2 separate regions of the Homo sapiens genome follow, and region 1 is linked to region 2. Evidence: promoter capture Hi-C in 16 types of primary human blood cells and fetal thymus (Javierre and others, 2016). All regions are on one chromosome and are shown on one strand. Each heading gives the region's core, a stretch centred on a gene start or on the middle of the fragment in contact. The rest is flanking DNA. Distances are from core to core; before and after follow the strand shown.

What was found. Contacts are between HindIII fragments. The CHiCAGO score rates a contact against its expected background, and 5 or more counts as called.
Region 1: a contact is called between a fragment that was not itself captured here and the fragment with the promoter of THSD1 in region 2, in 1 of 17 cell types (M2 macrophages). The highest score is 6.2, in M2 macrophages.

The regions. Positions count from the first base shown.
Region 1 is chr13:51,864,424-51,870,850 of GRCh38, reverse strand. CCDC70 (coiled-coil domain containing 70) reads right to left here. Exons shown (of 2, transcript NM_031290.4): 2 at 4,619-5,519. The coding sequence starts at 5,439. The coding sequence ends at 4,771. It also overlaps a transcript of TMEM272 not described here. Among named protein-coding and RNA genes, the nearest start is that of CCDC70, 5.7 kb to the right of the region's middle. The HindIII fragment of the contact is 2,151 bases long and covers 470-2,620 here.
Region 2 is chr13:52,403,646-52,409,665 of GRCh38, reverse strand. THSD1 (thrombospondin type 1 domain containing 1) reads left to right here and starts at 3,494. Exons shown (of 5, transcript NM_018676.4): 1 at 3,494-3,635. RefSeq lists a silencer at 3,405-3,564. The HindIII fragment of the contact is 11,042 bases long and covers 1-6,020 here.

The DNA.
Region 1 (6,427 bases), core at 296-2,795, 540 kb after region 2:
CTAAGAGTTTGCTTCTTGAAAACGTAGTCTTCCTGTCCTTGGCTCCATCTATCCCCGTGCTTCAGGAAGCACCTGGCCTGCTAATTTTCCAGCCTTGGTGAGAGGGAGGTGGCTCTGTAGTATAAGTTGGGTTGGTTCTTGGCTTTCCCCACTGCCAGCTTAGAATTCAGATTTATTATTTTTGCTAATTCCGTTTCCACTCATTCCTCAGCTTTTCTGCTTTCAAAATTGTGTTGCTATTGGTTTCTTTCTGATTCTTTTTGTTCTTGTGGATTTCTGATTTTTAAAAACAACCCCTTCTCTGTGTTTTATCGGGACTTGAGGGAGTAGAAGCCAGTGCATGCATTTGCTTTGTTATCTTTAACTGGACATCCCCTCCTCTTCTCTTTCATTCTCATTTCTTCTGGGCTTTGCCCTTTAATTTGAAAATTATTCTTTGTTTTTTCTTTTTTCCTCCTCTCATAAAGCTTCTGAAATGGGCCAAGAACCTATTTTAAAAGCCAAAAACTGAATAAAGACCCTTTCTATGTGTATTTTTAATTTATCCTAATAAAATGGATGGCTCTGGTTAAATAGATAGTCACACACACAAAAAAAACCAAAGAACTTTTATATATTTCAAAATATTATCCAACCACAACAGCACTGTCATGCTGTTTGAGTGTGAGATCCCCTCCTTCATGACCCCCTCGGCTCCACTTTGCTTAGGCCTGATGTAAGTGACTTCACCTTGGCATCAACGACTTTCACAGGGAAAGGGGTAACCAAGGAACCACAAAAGCCACCATAAAGACTAAGAAGCAGCAGCTTTAAACAGCTGTCGAATCCAGAGAGGGTCAAAGCTAGACCTCTTGAATAGGATCAGTCATGGAAGAACTATCCTGCTTCTCCGTCCCCTCTACTTCTACCTCGGAAGGATCCGAACCTACATGAGCACAACCAGGAGAGAAAAAGGAGAAGTATTCATCCCTCTTCGACTGCAGGATTTCTGATTCCTGCAGAGCGTACTTGAGGGTCCAGAGCTTTATTACATGGGAATGGAACATCTTAATTACTGAATTGAGGCCAGGCGCGGTGGCTTACACCTGTAATCCCAGCACTTTGGGAGGCTGAGGTGGGCGGATCACGAGGTCAGGAGTTGGAGACCAGCCTGGACAACATGGCGAAACCCCGTCTCTACTAAAAATACAAAAATTAGCCGGGCATGGCGGCAGGTGCCTGTAATCCCAGCTACTCAGGAGGCTGAGGCAGGAGAATCCCTTGAACTCTGGAAGCAGAGGTTGCAGTGAGCCGAGATCGTGCCACTGCACTCCAGCCTGGGCGACAGGGCGAGACTCCATCTCAAAAAAAAAAAAAAAATTACTGAATTGGGACTGGGTTTTTTAACTTAAAGTGACTGGAAGAATCCATGGTGTCTACTCGAGTTTTAATTTAGGGACAAGGGTGGAGCTAGCCCCATTGATACCGTTTAAAGGGACAAGATAATTCTTGATAGCACGACGTCTAATGCTGGCACATAAGAACTTAGGACATGGTCCACCCTCCTCGGGGCAATGAGGAATAGCTTTGTTGAGGTTAATAATGTGAGGATGGAGAGAGCAATAGATGAACTAGAGTCAGACCTTGATCATGACACAGCTCCACTCCTTACCACAGCCAAAGTCTCTTCACTGAGCATTGTTCCTTCATCTACAAAATAAGGGGGTTCAACTAGACAGCCAGTGGGATGCCTTCTCTATCTAAACTCTTGCATGAGTCTAGGGATGGCAAGGTGGAGAGGGGTTGGGTGAGTAGCCCCTTTCCTGGAGATAAACCACAGATGGTTTAAACCAGAGAAGACACTGGAGAACCCACTGCATTTCAAAAATATTTCCTTTCCCTTCTGGCAGCTTTGGGTAATTTGGGTAAGCACTTCTGGGTGGAGGCACAGCTCAGGCTTTGCGGGGAAGATGAATTTAGTGGTGAAACAACAGTTATGACAATAGATGCTGTTTCTGGCGCCTCTGAATCTTCTAGTATCTGCATTATGATTTTGGAATAAAAGATGATTCATTTCGAGTCTGGAACTCAGCTAAATGAGCAGGACTCTGAAACACCATAAATGACATTTCTCCCTGCCAGGAGCTCAAAGCAGGGAGACTGAGCCACTCCATAGATATTTGCCTGTGCTTTGTCTTACGAAAGACCCAGGAACTCTCTCAGGAGTTCAGCCTTGCTGTCACAGGTGCTGGCTAAGGGAAGCCAGCTTTGGCTGCTGCTGAGGTTGTGGAGAAATCTATCTGCATTTGTGCTAACAGTATTAATAAAAGCCCAGAAGTTAGGAGATGTTTCTGTGAATGTTATCTGCACTCTATCTGTGAAACAATGCTGAAGGTCAGGTGATTCCCAGATATTAGTTGTACACAGCTTACTTATCCTTAGGTTTCCTTTTGGCTAAAACTCGGTTTCATTCATCTCTGTGCATCTTTGCATAGCGTTTAAAGCACACTCGAGTGACATGCACTGCTGTAGTGCTCTCTCAGAGAGGCAGCCCCATGGGCCTCTTCCCTCCTAGCATTTGCCAGATTTTCCAAATAATGACATTGTGATTGTGTGACTCTCCCGCACTGGACGGAAAGCTTCCCGTAGGCAAGAATTAGCTCGTTCCCAAACATAGCATAGTGTTGGCAAGGCACAGTGGTGATGAATAAATACATAAGTGGATGATGAATTAAATGATTTATGTAGCAAAGGGATGCTGGCTGCACACCTTCTTGTTGGATGGCAGGGAACAAGAAGAAAGGTTGAGTTCACCCAGGTGCTAAACAAGCTTTGAGAACTTCCTTTCCACAGCAGATAAAAGGAGTCTGCAATTGTGGAGGTCTAGAGTACACTTTTCATCTCCCTTCATCCTGAATTTTGTCTTTGGCAGAATCTCTGGGGATTTTTGAATCTGCAGCTTTTCTCTGCACTGGGGTTCCTGCAGTGTGAATACCATCCAATGGCCCACACCGTCCAGGTCTTGAGTGTGGGCCCCTGGCAGCCCTCTTGAAATCGAATTCTCTCCACCCTGCATCCTATTCCCCATGGCTTGCTGAAGTCCTTGCCCTGGGACCCATGGAGAGCTGAGGATGGGTGTGTGACCAAGGAGAAAGCTGCTCCCACTGCTCTCTGACCCTGCTTCCTCTGAGAATCAGAGGACTTGCAGGGAACCCAGACTTTCCCAGCGCCAATTTTTCCATTGGCCATGCAGTAACCCAGGCTTTCCCACAATCTTCTGAAGCCTCAGAGGCCTGGCTGCTCCTGGGAGTCGGCCCACTCTCCTGGCACCAAGGGTATTTGTTCACCCTTGACTTTGTAAAGATCCCTGTCCTCTCCTCTCCCTAGCTCTCCACCCCCAAGCCACTGTGAAATCCTAGTGTACTTTAAGGCTCTCCCAGTATTGACACCACTATCAGCCAAGTCACTTCCCGTGACCCAGGGCTGTATTAGGAAAGGGCCACAATACCAAGAGACAGACACTGTGGGTTTTGGTCCTGGCCCTCCTATTTGCTACTTGCTGAACCACATGCACTCACATTGCTTCTTTAGGTCTCTGTTTCCTCATCTGTACAATGGGTTTATGCACCTTCCCTGCCAGCCCACAGAGCTGTGGTGAAGGTCACATGAGGAGGTGCATGAGAAAGTGCTTGTCTAGTAGTAGGGGACCCACTACGGTGAGGTAAGTTGATGTGTTAATGACAGTGAAGGCCAGGCCTAAGGAAAGGGGGAGCAGGACACATTTGTCGTGGCGTTTCTTACTCCCTTACTCCCTCACTCTGGTCATTTGTGTGGCATTCCCTATAAAGGCCATCTAATCTCCCCACCCCCAGAAGAAAAGTTGGGCACATAAGTTGCTTGACCACATTCATGTACATTCATTCAATGTACTACTCCCTAGGGTATTTTAATTTTAAAATAGATGAAAGCAGGAAGCCCCCCAAAAAGAATGTATAATACAGAAACACAGGGACCATGAGACTTATGTGAGTGGGAATATGTGAGGGCAGGGACAGGGAGCATGCCCATGCATTGCCCAGGCCACTCCATGGGTCAACTTGACTCCCTCATCAGGGGCGTCAGTGCTCTTGGGGGCCGCACTCTTGAGTCTCAGCCCCCACGCCAAGGCCCCATTCTCACGCTGCCTGAGTAGGGCAGCTGAGACGTTTGGTGGAACTCGGAACTACCAGTGAGTGGGTCGTACAGGGATTCTGCCTGTGTCCTCCACATGCCCTACCAGAGGAGGAAGAGGCACAAATGAAGAATTAACAGCACAGAGGCCTTTACTGGAATGCTGCCAGCCCTCTCCAGGCCTCCAAGACTGCCCCAAGTGAAGGAGAAGTGACCTCCCCACAGCGTGGCGGAGACAGCGGCATCTCAGCTCCTCTCTGTCCCTGTGTGTCTCTAGCTGGCATGGCCCGAGCCTCTCCTCCCCATTTTGACTCTTAAAGAGAGCCAAAGCGTCTCCACTTCCAAACACCCGCACAGGCTGGGGTCACTGGGAGCTGCCTGGGACCGATCTCTGTGGCCCAGAGGTGGGAACATGACCTTGGATCATCACAAAACCTGGAAAAAATGCAGCCAGCCTTCCTCAAATAAGTTGGTTTTCCAAACCTTGCCTCAGGACTTTATTGGATCTTTCAAAGCAAGGAGACCAATGAGTGTGTATTTTCTCCAGCACATGGGCTCACCCTGGACTTGAATCCCAACCCAGGGGAGTCTGGACCACAGGGCCCTGCACCTGCATGCTGGCTACGCCCTGCCTCGGGAGAAGGCCAGCAAGCGCTGCCCTCTGTTGGCGTTGTGGGGCCCATCTTCGAGCATCTGCTCTCCGGCAATGTGGCCATTGTTCTCCATCCAGAAGGCCCTCTCTTCCTCCCAGAGGGCATTCTCTTCCTCCCAGAGGGACGTTTTATCTTCCCACAGGGCTTTCTCCCCCTCAAGGAGGGCTCTTTCCTCTACCCACAGGGCCTTTTCTTCCTCCCACAGGGCCTTGTCCTCCTGAAGAAGGTTCCGGTCTCTTTCCCATAAGGCATTGTCCTCTTTCCAGAAGGCCTTATCCTCCTTCCAGAAAGTGCGGTACTTTTTCCAGAAAGTTTTCTCTTCCTCCCTGAAAGACTTTTCCATTTCCCAGAAGGATTTTTCCTCTTTCCAGAAGGTTTTCTCCTCTTCCCAGAAAGGTCTCTCCTCTTCCCAAAAACCCAGGATCTGGCCCCGGAAAGCATGGATCTTGCCTCGGAAAGTCCACATCTCTTCCCTGAAGTCCTCTATTTTTTCACGAAAAATTTTCATCTCTTCGCGAAAAGCCTTTTCCTCCTGCAGCTTGTGCATTAGTTTCTTCTGGCGAATACTGGGAGAGGATGCCGCCAGGGACCGGAAGCAGGCAAGCCCCATCCATCTGCTCACCTTGAAGGAAAACATCTTCCTTATCAGCCGGAATGGCGGGGTGGCCATGAGGGATGACAGGACCCTTGGCCAGGTCCAGGTCGGCTGGTCAGACCCTGTGGGGGCAGCAGAAAAGACAGATCTATGAGTATCACATGCCAGGGGACGGCCCTTGGTTCTGTACTACTGAATTTGAGAAAATGTAATCACTGCTCTTTGTCCACATGGTGGTGTTTGTGAGGGACAAGCTTTGGTAGAAAAACATGTGGGGTGGTCATGGCTTTGAGCTGGAGAGGCAGTCAGTACATTCAAGCTCAAGGCTGCTAAAAACGTAGACACTCAGCCAAGAAGGACAGTGGCTGTCAACTAGGGTATCAGAACACATAGGTGTGACATGATGAGGCCAAGAAGAATTTACGTTTGTTAAATCAATCCGAATGAATTTAGGTTTTGGTGTACTCACTTGAGAATTGTTCCTATCTGCCTATGGGCATGCTCACGTGTGAATGTCCTCTGTTACGAGCCTGGGACACAGAAGACAGGCCCACTGACCTCAGAGGGGAGGAGGAGAGTGTATTTTAGGAGAGGAGTTTATTTTGGGAAAAGTGGTTTAAAACAAAAAGGTGAGAGACGATGGTGAATGTTTCCAGGGACATGGACCAAGAAGGCCCTCACACAATATTTAGTAATATGGAACAATAAGAAAGACACCAGATGACCCGCAGCTCCAGTCCCAGGTATAAACCCTGAGGAAACTTAGGAACTGTGACTAGGATACATGTACAAGTGTGTTCAAGGAGCTTTGTTCATAAGAGCTCAACTCTGGAAACAATCCAATGACCATCCCAATAGAGTGGAATAAAAAATGGCAGTATATCCACATGGCAGACAGCATGGCTGCCTACAACAGCATGGGTAAATCTTATAAACCCAATGCTGAAAGAGAGAAGCAGGATCAGGGAATTTCAAAGAATGAAGTTCCAAACAAGCAAGACTAAATGCCATTGTCTAGGGGAACATACTT
Region 2 (6,020 bases), core at 2,245-4,744:
CACACCTGGCTAATTTTTTATTTATTTTATTTTTTGAGACGGGGTCTTACCCAGCCTGTGCAGTGGCATCATCTTGGCTCACTGAAGCCTCCACCTGGGTTCAAGTGATCCTCCTGCCTCAGCCTCCCAAGTAGCTGGGACCACAGGCACGTGCCATCACAGCCGGCTAGTACATTCTATTTTTGGTAGAGACAGGGTTTTGCCATGATGCCCAGGCTGGTCTTGAACTCTTGAGCTCAAGCGATCCACCTGCCTTGGCCTCCCAAATAATTTCTTATTTATTGTGGCGATGGAGTCTTGCTGTTTTGCCCAGGCTGGTCTAAAAGTACTGGGCTCATGCAAACCTCCTGCCTTGGTTTCCCAAATTGTTGTGATTACAGCCATGAGCCACTGCACCTGGCTGACAATATAAGTTCTTAGAAAATTTTATACCTCTGGTAACATATAAGTAAATACTTGTGCTACCTTTTTAAAAATGAAGTGATAGAGTCAAAGACCTGCAAATCACATATTTAAAAATTTTTTTTTAAATGAGGTACAGTTTACAAACTGTAATGCACAGATCTTCAGTCAGACAAGTTTTAACAAATGCTTAGTAAATCCATGTAACTCACACTCCAAACAGTAGAACATATCTGTCGCCCCCTAAAAGTTTCCTGGTGCCTCTTTCCTGTCATCGCTCTCCAAAGGCCACCACTGTGCTTTGATTTCCATTACCAGATATTAGTTTTGCTGTCAAATGGTATATTCTGCATACCGGATATTAGTTTTGCTGTCAAATGGTATATTCTGCATAAAAGAAAAGCAAGTGTTAAACCATACTGCATAGTTACTCAATTTAACAAGCACAGCTGTTAAGGTGGAATCTATCCTCTCATATATTCCCAAAAACTTAAAACTCTTTTTTAAATTTTAGTTTTAGATTTGGGGGTGCATATGCAGGTTTGTTACAAGGGTAATTGCATGTTGCTGAGGTTTGGGCTTCTATTGATCCTGTCACCTAGATAATGAACATAGTACTGAGAGGTGACAGCGTGCTGGCAGCCCTCACAGCCCTCGCTGGCTCTCAGCACCTCCTCTGCCTGGGCTCCCACTTTGGCGGCACTTAAGGAGCTCTTCAGCCCGCTGCTGCACTGTGGGAGCCCCTTCCTGGGCTGGGCTGGCTGAGGCTGGAGCTGGCTCCCTCAGCTTGCGGGGAGGTGTGGAGGGAGAGGCGCTGGCGGGAACCGGGGCTGCGCACGGTGCTTGCGGGCCAGCACGAGTTCCGGGTGGGTGTGGGCTCGGCGGGCCCGCACTCGGAGCGGCCGGTGGGCCCTGCCGGCCCCGGGCAATGAGGGGCTTAGCACCTGGGCCAGCAGCTGCAGAAGGTGTGCTGGGTCCCCCAGCAGTGCCGGCCCACCGGCGCTGCGCTCAATTTCTCGCAGGGCCTTAGCTGCCTCCCTGAGCAGGGCAGGGCTCGGGACCTGCAGCCCGCCATGCCTGAGCCTCCCCCACCTTCCATGGGCTCCTGTGAGGCCCGAGCTCCCTGACGAGCACCACCCCCTGCTCCACAGCGCCCAGTCCCATCGACCACCCAAGGGCTGAGGAGTGCGGGCACAGGGCGCGGGACTGGCAGGCAGCTCCACTTGCAGCCCCGGTGCGGGATCCACTGGGTGAAGCCAGCTAGGCTCCTCACTGGTGGGCACTTGGAGAACCTTTATGGCTAGCTAAGGGATTGTAAATACACCAGTCGGCACTCTATCTGGCTCAAGGTTTGTAAACACACCAATCAGCACCCTGTGTCTAGCTCAGGGTTTGTGAATGCACCAATGGACACTGTATCTAGCTACTCTTGTGGGGACTTGGAGAACCTTTGTGTGGACACTCTGTATCTAGCTAATGTAGTGGGGACGTGGAGAACCTTTGTGTCTAGCTCAGGGATTGTAAATGCACCAATCAGCGCCCTGTCAAAACAGACCACTCCGCTCTCTGTAAAATGAACCAATCAGCAGGATGTGGGTGGGGCCAGATAAGAGAATAAAAGCAGGCTGCACGCGCCGGCAGTGGCAACCCGCTGGGGTTCCCTTGCAAAGCGTGGGAGCTTTGTTCCTTGGCTCTTTGCAATAAATCTTGCTGCTGCTCACTCTTTGGGTCCACACTGCCTTTATGAGCTGTAACACTCACTGCGAAGGTCTGCAGCTTCACTTCTGAAGCCAGCGAGACTACGGACACACTGGGAGGAACGAACAACTCCAGACGCGCCGCCTTAAAAGCTGTAACACTCATGGCGAAGGTCCGCAGCTTCACTCCTGAACCAGCGAGACCACGAACCCACCAGAAGGAAGAAACTCTGAACACATCCGAACATCAGAAGGAACAAACTCCGGACAGGCCGCCTTTAAGAACTGTAACACTCACCGCGAGGGTCCGCAGCTTTATTCTTGAAGTCAGAAAGACCAAGAACCCACCAATTCCGGACACAGTACCCAATAGGATGTTTTTCAGCCCTTGCCCCTTTCTCTCCCTCCCTTGACTTGGAGTCTCCAGTGTTTGTTGTTGCCATCTTTATGTCCATGAGTACCCGTTGTTTAAGCTCCCACTTATAAGTGAGAACATTCGGTGTTTGGTTTTCTGTTCCTATGTTAATTCACTTAGGATAATGTCCTCCAACTGCATCCATGTTGCTACAGAGGACGTGATTTTGTTCTTTTTTTATGGCTGTTTAGTATTTCGTGGTGTGTATGTACCACATTTTCTTTACCCAGTCTACTGTTGATGGGCACCTAGGTTGATTCCATGTCTTTGCTATTGTAAATAGTACTGTGATAAACATAGTGCGGGTGTCTTTTTGGCAGAATGATTTATTTTCCTTTGGGCATACACCCAGTAATGGGATTGCTGGGTCGAATGATCTTTCTGTTTTTAGTTGAGAAATCTCCAAACTGCTTTCCACAGTGGCTGAACTAATTCACATTCCTATAAAAAGAACTTTAACACTTGCAGAGTAGAGTTTTTAAAATGTTTAGTTATTTTTAATACCAATTCTGACCCCAGGGAAAGAAAATGGAGATGCACTTTACCTGAACTATGTTCTTTTGAAACTCTTCAGTGACATTTGGGAAAGCAAGTTTACAGCCCACATGCTGTGCCGCTTCAAGGACTTATTTTTGTGGTCTCCCTGAAGAAAATGACACTAGAGTAGAAGTGATTGAATGTGAAGTGTCAGGAGATTGCTCGCTCGTCCTTCGTTAAACCCCTGGTCCGGCTGTGTGCTGTGGATGCGGGTGTGTGTTGAGGGGACCTGCGTCTGCCGGGGCCGCACCCCCTCCCGCAGGACCTTGGCTGGCCGCGCGTTTCCTGCCTGTTTCCTGTCCAGCAGCTGGCGAGCTGGGGACCGGCAGGAAAGGATGCGCTGCCCAGAAGGGGCGGGAACCGACCACGCCCGGTCCCGTGTGCCCCCCGCCCTCCCGGCGCCCGCCCTCCCCACGCCGTCGGGGGCGGGCCCCGCGGGGCTGTGGGAGCCGAACGCCGCGGGGTCAGGGCGTGCAGTCTGGGACGCGGGATGCTTGGCGCTCTACCTCGCCGCCCCTGAGCCTTCCCGTCCGCCTCGCCACGCGCCCGGACGGCCTGGGGTTGCTGCCCGTCAGTCTCGAAAGGTAAGAAGCGCCCTCCGCATCCTGGTGTTCGCGCCCGTGCCGCGAGACTCTTGGAGGCTCCTCTGGGGTCGGGAAATGCCTCCGGACTCTGCCACCTCACCGCAGCCTGAAGGCGCAGGTGGACGGTGGCGGCCCCTCCCCACACCCGCCTCGGCCCCAGGGGACGCTTTTAAGGGGTATTGGTCTCCACACTTCGGAGTCCCGAATTTAAGTGAACCTGGCTCTGCCTTGGCTCAGATGTTGCCGAGTGACTGAGACTGGCCACAGAACCTTGAAAAATCGCGTCTTGAGCTACTGTTTCTTTCCAAAAAGAAATCCTTTCTGATATACAAAAAGTATGAAATACAAGGATTAAATTAAATTAAAGACGGTCCTCATTAAGGAGGGCTTTAAGCTGACGACGCGAGGGGTAGACTTCCAGGCGTGAACTGGGCTTGCGGGCATTTGGGAAGCTGAGTAGATGGGGCGAGCCAGGGCGTCCCAGGAACGCTGCACCCAACCTGTGGGACCAGGGCAGAGCAAACTCGAATGAACAGATAAATGAAGCCTGTTTACACGAGCTGCTTTAGAACTAGAGATTTCCTCCCAATAAATACTATTGGTATATATACACACAAGCATGTGCATGTTGGTCAGAAGGGACAAAATAACTGCTTCGTTTTCCATTTTATTCTTTCACGAATCATTGGTCCCATGGACATTAGTGTAATTCATTTACTTTTTCTGCAGCTATGAAGGGAGATTTAGAAGCGTTTGTCCTAGCTGGTTTCAGCAAAAACATGGGGTCTCAGGTTGGGTGATGCTGTTAGCCATTGAGAATATTCACAACTTTTCCCCACCTTCTCAGCTGATGCATTTAGAATTTGTCTCTAAAGTTTACATACAAGAATGCTAGGTAGAAGTATTTTCAAATGTGTATAAAATATATCTAAGTTCTTAATTTCTTAGAACAATTCTCAATGCAAACATTGTAAGAAGTCAGTCGAGGTATTGAGAACAACATGTTGAAAGAAAATAAGCAAGGTAGAAAGAAATTAAAGAGACATATTATGACTAATGTTATGATCATATTCCATATTATGATTGACAAGTAGGCTGGTCTGTTTTATAAGTCTTTTTCCATTCAGCTCTAAATATAGATTGTCTCACCATTCTATGTTTTACCGATCATTTTCATAAGAAAGAAAATGTGTTATAATCACTAAATCAGTAATGATTTGGGGCTTCAAAAATAAAAATGTTATTGTCGTGGAAGCAAACAAATCTGAGAGAAGCCAGTTCAACTTTTGGGAGCTTGCTTCTTCTTAGTTTGGTTACCAGGTCTCAGTGACTTAAAAGAAGCATTGTAATTGTCTTAAGTGCTCACACTTGCCCAAGTGATGTGATGTGTTCTGCAAGGATCTTACTGGCTGACTTTGCCCAGGTTTCCCAGTCCATGTTCGAGGAAAGAATTGGGTCAAGTCTGTGGCTAATTCCACCCAAAACAATTTTCTTCTTCTTTCCTTTCTTTTCTTTTTTTTGGGTGGGGGTGGCGGGGAAGAGGAAGGAGCCCTAATCTGCATAGTTACACTTCAAATCTCTGTTTCCCTTTCAGGAAGTACAGTATTTCCTTTGTTCAGCAGCTCTTGCTGAAAGAAAGCTAATAAGACACACCAGTTTCCCTTCCATTGAATTCTGGCTTATTTCAATCAGTCTTCTTAATTCCACTAATTTGTGCTCTTATCTGAAAAGATGTAACATGTATTTGGAATATAATATACTTGCTTATTAAAATGATTAACTGTGGGCTGGGTGTGGTGGCTCACGCCTGTAATCCCAGCACTTTGGGAGGCCATGGTGGGCAGATCACGAGGCCAGACATCTGAGACCAGCCTGGCCAAAGTGGTGAAACACCGTTTCTACTAAAAATACAAAAATTAGCCAAGCGTGGTGGTGCACACCTATAATCCCCGCTACTCAGAAGCCTGAGGTGGGACAATCACTTGAACCTGGGAGGTGGAGGTTGCAGTGAGCCAAGATCATGCCACTGCACTCCAGGCTAGGTGACAGAGCAAGACTCTGTCTAAAAAAAAAAAAAAAAAAAAAAAAAAAATGTGAATAATGGGGGGGACCTTAAACATTAAGAAAGTACATATTTGGTTATATTTAATATTAATACATAGTTTGCTAGACTCTAGTATGAAAGAACTGTCTTAAATGCCCAGTATCTTATTCTATAGTTGAATAGTCTATATAAAAATAAGTGCCTTTTCCAGCCGGGTGCGGTGGCTTACGCCTGTAATCCCAGCACTTTGGGAGGCTGAGATGGGCAGATCACGAGGTCAGGAGATCGAGATCCTGCCTAACACAATGAAACCCCGTTTCTACTAAAAATACCAAAAATTA